Regions from separate parts of the Homo sapiens genome. Here region 2 is linked to region 1. The links are contacts of gene promoters, found by promoter capture Hi-C in blood cells and fetal thymus (Javierre and others, 2016). All regions are on one chromosome and are shown on one strand. The core of a region is centred on a gene start or on the middle of the fragment in contact, and the rest is flanking DNA. Distances in the headings are between cores, read along the strand shown. Region 1 holds the start of MOGAT2 (monoacylglycerol O-acyltransferase 2). Region 2 holds the start of RPS3 (ribosomal protein S3).

Region 1 (3,740 bases), core at 1,227-3,726:
GTTTGAGACCGGCCTGACCAATATGGTAAAACCCCATCTCTACTAAAAATACAAAAATTAGCCAGGCATGGTGGTGGGCACCTGTAGTCCCAGCTACTTGGGAGGCTGAGGCAGGAGAATGGCTTGAACCCGGGAGGCAGAGGTTACAGTGAGCCGAGATGGTGCCAGTGCACTCCAGCCCGGGCGACAGTGGGAGATTTGGTTTCAAAAAAAAAAAATTAGTGATAAGAAAATGAAAATCAAGAGTAAAATTTGGTCTCATTTCATACCCTAGCAAGACAAGAAGAAGTCTGACCATACCAAGGGTCAGAGCAGATCCATGGGGGTGGGGGTGGGGTCTCTCGATTCTTGGGGAGACTATACCTTGATGTATTATTTTGGAAAACAGTTTGGCTCTACTCCCAAACTTGAACATTCACATATTCATAAACCCAGCAGTTTCTCCTGCTGTGTTGAAATTGTGGAGAGGAGAATGAGGATAGAAAGTAAACGGAGAGGCCAATAAGGAAGACAGAGCCAGTCTATAAAAGAGGCTGGCTGTGGAGGTAGACAGCAGCTGTTCAGTTCAAGAGACTGAAATCAACAAAACACTAGAACAAGAAGGTCATAGAAAATGATATCCAAATGGTCAGTAAGCATATTAAAATGTGCTTATATTTATTAGTTGTTAGGAAAATGCTATAACCACAATGAAGGACCACTACACACCCACCAAAATTCAGAACTCGGAATTCTTATATAAGGCTATGGGAGTGTAGATTTGTACAACCACTTTGGAAAACTCTATGGCTATCTACCATGAGACCCATCAATTCTATTTCCAGGCACATACCCAACAGAAATGTGTATAGATGTGTACTGAAAGACATGTACAGGAATGTTCGTAGCAGCAATATTCATAATAGCCAGAAACAGGTGACAGCCCAAATGCCTGTCAGCGTCCAAATGGACACTTTGTGGCATATTCACACAATGGAATGCTATACAGCAATGAAAACAAAGGCAATACAGGCACATATGATGTCTCAAAAGAGTATACACTAAATGATTCAGTTTTCATAAAGTTCAAGAACAGAGATGAGGATGGTGCTGAGCTACAGGGAGGAGAGCAGTGACTGGCAAGGCCAGAAGGGGTGCTAGGTAAGTTCTGTTTGTCGATCAGAGTGGTGATAACTTTCACTTTGTGAAAAGACATTTCTCTGTCCGCTTAGGATTTGTGCATTTTTCCGTATGTATGGTATACGTCAATTTGAAGTTGACATTTAAAAGGAGGGACTTAGAAGAACTGATAGGACATGGTGACTGGTAGAGGTGGATGGAGAAGAACAGAAGGGATCTAGTGTGACTCAGGTTTTGGCCTGAGCAACTGGGTAAATGGCATTACCCTTTACTGAGATGGGAAAGAGCAGAGGAGGAGTCAGTGGGGCAGAAGGGAGGTGGGGGAGGGAATCAAGTTCACCTTTAGACATGCTACGATGGAGGTGCCTATCAGGCATTCAAGTGAAGATGTCAAGGAGCCACCTAGAGATTCAAGTTTAGAGCCCCAGGGAGCAGAGCTGCAGATGCAGATTTGGAAGTCTTTGCTGTGTAAATACAATGCAAGGTGTGAGCCTGGATGAGATCTCAGAGAGCAGAAACTGGAGAGAAAAGAGAAGTCCCGAGGATGGAGTGGAGGAGGGGGACTCGAACAGCTGGCCTGGTGAAAGACGAGAGGCACAAAGGGAGCAGCCAGAGAGCTAGGAAGAAAACTGGGAGAGCATAGTGTCCAAAGGCCAAGTGGTTTCAAAGAAACGGGAATGATCAACCATATCTAATGCTGCCAATAGGTCAGGATGAGATCTGAGAATTGATTACTGGATTTAACATCATGGAGGTCACTAGGGAACTTGCCAAGGGCAGTTTTGTGGAAGGGTGATACCTGAAGTGTGGACCACCATTTGTGGTACCACAGATGGGAGGTGAGGACAGGAAGGCATGAAAGATAGCTCTTCCGAGAGTTTGCTGTGTGAGTGAGCAGAAAAATGGGGCAGGAGGTGGAGGACACAGTGTGGGTGGGGATTTTTAGGTGGGAGTTAGTACAGCATATGTGTGGAGGGGGAACAATGGACAGGACAAGGTTATCCTATCCATTGACCTTGGGGCCAGGTCATTGAATAGGTGGGAAGGGGGTGAGATTGCATATGCTTGGGGCTTCACCTGCCTAGTTATAGGAAGGACAAGATTTAAGCAATTGGGGAAAGGCAGCCATGCAGATAAGGCATTGCCTGAGAAAGTTGATAAAGGCTATACAACCCCTTCTCTTCCTCCTTCCTTAGCCAGGCTCCAGCAGGTAGATTCAAAGGTTTCTTGTAGGATAGAATTTCCTGCCTCAGCAGGGGCAAGGAGGCCTTGGGGCTGGGCTGGGCTGGGCTGGGTGTGGCACTCTCCCTGCCAGCTTCTACAACCTGGGGAGGGAACAAAAACCTGTGGGTGCCTCAGACCACAGCAGAGCTCACAGAACCTGCGGGAGCCAGGCTGACCCGCCAGCATGGTAGAGTTCGCGCCCTTGTTTATGCCGTGGGAGCGCAGGCTGCAGACACTTGCTGTCCTACAGTTTGTCTTCTCCTTCTTGGCACTGGGTAAGTTGGGCTGCACTGTAAGACGGGAGACCACCGCACTCAGGTGGGGCAGAGCAGCCACACCAGGTGCACACAGCACATTGATGGTGGCAAGACATTTATCCTAAAGGGGGCTTTGTTGCGCTCAGAGCCCCTGCCCAGAGAGAACTCCTGGGCCTGCCCAGAGGCTTCTTGGGGGTGGAGTGGGGTAGAAGTCACCGTCTGCTGCTCTGGGCAGGTTACTTACTCTTCCTGGCTTGCACTGTGGGTTCTCCTTTGGCACTTGGATGAAGACCAGTCTGCAGGCTGCCAAGTGGTGTGGGAAAGCCTCTGGGCGATGACGGGAAAGTTCTGGGCTCTGCAGCCTGCTCAGAGAGGAGAGATTTCCTTCTGTGCGCTCAGGGAGGAGGAAACTGGGGCTGGTAGTAGGGTAAGTGAGAGAAACAGGGAAAGAAAAGAAGGGTGGGGAGAAGGTGCAGACTGAGAGTGGACTGTGGAGTGGGCATGCTGGGTACCAGGAAACCCGGAGTCAGACTCAGCTGGGCAACTGACTTTAGCCAGCCCATGCCTGACCTCTCCAAGCCTCGACTTCACCATCTGCAGAACGGGGACAACAATGCTGGCCTTGCAGGGCTATTGTGAAGGAAATGAAGAAATGTGCTGACCTCTGCTTGGCACAGACCTGGCCTGGACCCTGGGCTGGGCTCACACTGGAGGGCATGAGCATGGCCCCTTACCCACCCCACCACTGATTTGTGGCCAGAGAGATCACCCTTGCCCAAACAATAGCTCTGCCAAAGGTAACATTTTCTAGGAGGGTCTGGATCTGTGGCTTGGGAAGGGAGAATGACTAGGAGTCCGTGGGGTTTTTCCTTTCATCTGCTGGCACCAGACAAGGTAGGAACTGCTGCTTCCAGGGCTGAGGTTCAGCCTGTACACAGATACCACTCTCCTGGTTGTTAAAATATTGACACACTCTGAACACATTGCTCAGTAGCCATCTCTCTTTCTCTCTCTCTCTCTCACACACACACACACACACACGTACTTCCTCAGAAACTCCCCCACAATTCTGTAGTGAAAAAACTCCCCCTTGGCAAAGCAGGCCCTCCAGGACCCTGCCCTAGCATCCCTTCTGGTTGA
Region 2 (3,777 bases), core at 1,239-3,738, 320 kb before region 1:
GGGTTTCACTATGCTGGCCAGGCTGGTCTCAAACTCACGACCTCAGGTGATCCACCTGCCTCGGCCTCCCAAAGTGCTGGGATTACAGGCATGAGCCACCGCGCCCATCCACTTTTTGTCATCTTCCCTGGTCCCTCTGCTCAGCAACCACAGAACTCTGTTAATTCCGTGATTATAGGACAGGTCACTTTACATCAGAGTTGTTTTAGAGCTGGAGTTAAACACTCCAATGGCTTCTAGGACCAGAAAATAACTGAGTGGTGCTGCCAGGGAGTGTGGCACCTTGGAAAGACTCTTTTTGTGTAACAGGAAAGGAGAGCACTGCCCATGAAGAAATGTGGGTTCACTATTTTGCTAGATATTTCTATATCCTTAAGAAAAACCTAAAATAGTTTTAGAGAGAAATACCCTGACTTTTAAATGAAGAAAACTATTCAAACTTAAAATAAAACTGTTGGCTGGGTGCGGTGGCTCACGCCTGTAATCCCAGCACTTTTGGAGGCCGAGGTGGGCGGATCACAAGGTTAGGAGTTCAAGACAAGCCTGGCCAACATAGTGAAACCCTATCTCTACTAAAAATATGAAAATTAGCTGGACATGGCGGTGCTTGCCTGTAGTCCCAGCTACTCAGGAGGCTGAGGCAGGAGAATCGCTTGAACCCGGGAGGTGGAGGTTACGGTGAGCGGCGATCGCACCACTGCACTCCAGCTTAGGCAACAGAGTAAGACTTCGTCTCAAAAATAAATAAATAAATAAAATAAAACTGTTATTGAAGTGTTTAGGGGTAAAGTTTACCAATGTCTGCAACTTACTTTGAAATGCCTCAAAAGATGTATTGGTGGGTGGCTACAGGGATGAGTAGATCCACGATAAAGCAACAGCAAAATATTAATTGTAGCATCATTCTCAATTCCCCCTCAGCTTGGTGATGCATACACGTACAGTTTTTTCAACTGTTCTGTAAGCTTCATTAAAAAATGAAGGGACATTTTTAATTTTTTATTTTTTTTAGACTGAGTCTCACTCTGTTGCCCGGGCTGAGTGCAGTGGCACAATCACGGCTCACTGCAGCCTAGACCTCCTGTACTCAAGCAATCCTCTCACATCTCCCTCCAGAGTAGCTGGGACTACAGGCACACACCACCACACCTGGATAATTTTCTTTTTTCACTTTTCATAGAGATGAGGGTGTCTCATTCTGTTGCCCAGACTGGTCTCAAACTTCTGGCCTCAAGCTATCCACTTGCCTTGGCCTCCCAAAGTGCTAAGATTACAGGCCTGAGCCACTGCACCTGGCTAGAATTTTTTTTAATTGAAAAAGAAGGCCAGGCACGGTGGCTCATGCCTGTAATCCCAGCACTCTGGGAGGCTAAGGCAGGTGGATCACTTGAGGTCAGGAGTTCAAGACCAGCCTGGCCAACATAGTGAAACTTCATCTCTACTAAAAATACAAAAATTAGCTGGGTGTGGTGGTGTGCACCTGTAATCCCAGCTACTCAGGAGGCCAAGGCAGAAGAATCACTTGAACCTGGGAAGTGGAGGTTGCAGGGAGCTGAGATCGTACTACTGCACTCCAGCTTGGGCAACCGGAGAGAAAAGAAAGAAAGGAGAGAAAGAGAGAGAGAAAGAGAGAGGAAGGAAGGAAGGAAGGAAGGAAGGGCGGGCCCATGGGACCTTCTGGGACTTCTGTTACAAATTGTAATGGACTTGATGAAAGTAAGGTGGGGTAAATGAGAACAACATAAAGGACACAGAACGCAGTCCCTAGGACACTTAGTAAGTATCAGGTTTTATTATTATCATTTGGAATGGAGGAAATGGGTACAGACTGGGGGACATGAGTTGTTTTGTTTGTTTGTTTGTTTGTTTGTTTGAGACAGAGTCTCACTCTGTGGTCCAGGCTAGAGTGCAGTGGTAGGATCTTGGCCCACTGCAACCTCCATCTCCCAGGTCCAAGCAATCCTCCCACCTCAGCCTCCCGAGTAGCTGGGATTACAGGTGCCCGACACCACTCCCAGCTAATTTTTCTATTTTTAGTAGAGACGGGGTTTCACCATGTTCGCCAGGCTAATCTCGAACTCCTGACCTCAAGTAATCCGCCCGCCTTGGCCTCCCAAAGAGGAGTCTTAAATGAGTTTCACTGAGGGATTTCAGCAGATTTTCATTACAGTGTCCACCCTGAAAGTGTAGGGGCCAGAGTTCCACGCTGGTTAATCTCTCTTGCTGTGTGAACTTATACCTGTAATTTCCACCTCTGCACCTCACATTGCTTGTTTTGAAACTATGAGAATTGAACTCTAAGGTCCCCTGAAGTTTAGAAGTCCTGCTGGATGAAGCCCCTTTCCTGTTCCTGCCTACATTCTTCTTTCCCTGGACGCCTTACTTACGTAAAAACTACATTTCCCATGAGCACCCACAGGCGTGCACGCAGCGCAGCCCTCCGTCGTCGCTCGCGCCCTTTATACTCACTTCCGCCCGCGAGCCACTTCCTTTCCTTTCAGCGGAGCGCGGCGGCAAGATGGCAGTGCAAATATCCAAGAAGAGGAAGGTGAGCCTCTGGGGACTGGGTTCGGAGAACGACGGCGCCGCGCGGGTCGAGGGCTTCTCGGGGTGCCACCGCGAGGCCTGCAGCTCCGTGGCCTGCCCTGGAAGCGGCCTAGGCTTCCTGGCGTTCCTGCGGGCCGCGGATGGCGGTGGATTGAGTGAGAGGCCCCAGCCAGGAGGGCGCTGTGTGGCCGGGTTCCAAGTGAAGCGCAGAGAGATGGGCACCAGGCGCCCCTTCTGTCCCGGAGAAGGCGTTTGTGAGCATTTGTCGGTCAACGGAATTAGTAAACGTGGTATTTTGAGGGCGTGTGTCATTTCCCTCATGTCTTATCCCGTGGTTTTGGGAAGAGAAGGCAGCAGTGTATTCTTGCCTTAACTGGTCGTTTCTGGGTACAGTCCGCTGGCCCCAGGACCTCAACTTGAAGGGTTGCTGACGGTTGCTTGCTCCGTCTGGGGACCCCGGGAGGAAGCTGCCTCGGATTTAACGCCTTGTCATTACATGGGATAGAACTGTGTAAAAATCATTAGCTTTAAAAATAGACAGTTTGTCATTTCGTATATACACTTCGATGTCAAAATTAAATCCACAACTTCTCGAGAGTTAGGATTTGCCAGCTCTGTTGGTACCGTAAAGCCAAATAACATGGCTGGGATTCTTTAGACGGTGCAGGTTGTGTCTACAAGTGAGAGAGCTTATATGTTAAGTCTACTATCTATTCCTTAACAGTGACAAGTACAGTGTCTTTGCTGTGCTGAATGAAGTGTAAATAGGCCATTAGAGCAGTTTCTTGTTTTGCATGTGGAACTGTTTTAAACCCTTCGATGAAGAGATGATGACGAGTCTGACTTGGGGATGTTCTCTTTGCCCAGGTGGCCTACTCTGTGCTGCGTTCTGTGGCACAGTTTAAAGAGCCCTGGTTGAAGTAATTTCCTAAAGATGACTTAGAGGCATTTGTCTGAGAAGGGTTGCTGCACTCCTGTTGGAACAAGGGTTTGGAACCATTGGTTGGAGGTATTTAGTTTTGGTGAGGGATGCATTGACTAATAAGACTAGACTGGCTCAGGCGAAAGTGAGCCTACACCGATCTCCTAATTTTGAACTTTGCTTTGTTTGGATTAGTTTGTCGCTGATGGCATCTTCAAAGCTGAACTGAATGAGTTTCTTACTCGGGAGCTGGCTGAAGATGGCTACTCTGGAGTTGAGGTGCGAGTTACACCAACCAGGACAGAAAT

The links. Contacts are between HindIII fragments. The CHiCAGO score rates a contact against its expected background, and 5 or more counts as called.
Region 2: a contact is called between the fragment with the promoter of RPS3 here and the fragment with the promoter of MOGAT2 in region 1, in 2 of 17 cell types (erythroblasts and megakaryocytes). The highest score is 7.3, in erythroblasts.

Annotation. Positions count from the first base shown.
Region 1 is chr11:75,715,362-75,719,101 of GRCh38, forward strand. It overlaps MOGAT2 (monoacylglycerol O-acyltransferase 2), which reads left to right and starts at 2,477. Exons shown (of 6, transcript NM_025098.4): 1 at 2,477-2,618. The coding sequence starts at 2,528. It overlaps LOC105369392 (a long non-coding RNA gene), which reads right to left and starts at 2,924. Exons shown (of 3, transcript XR_950316.4): 1 at 2,845-2,924. The HindIII fragment of the contact is 5,505 bases long and covers 1-3,740 here.
Region 2 is chr11:75,397,030-75,400,806 of GRCh38, forward strand. RPS3 (ribosomal protein S3) reads left to right here and starts at 2,489. Exons shown (of 7, transcript NM_001005.5): 1 at 2,489-2,548; 2 at 3,665-3,777. The coding sequence starts at 2,519. It overlaps SNORD15A (small nucleolar RNA, C/D box 15A), which reads left to right and starts at 3,362; the gene lies at 3,362-3,509. RefSeq lists enhancers at 2,466-2,825, 3,052-3,777. The HindIII fragment of the contact is 4,256 bases long and covers 964-3,777 here.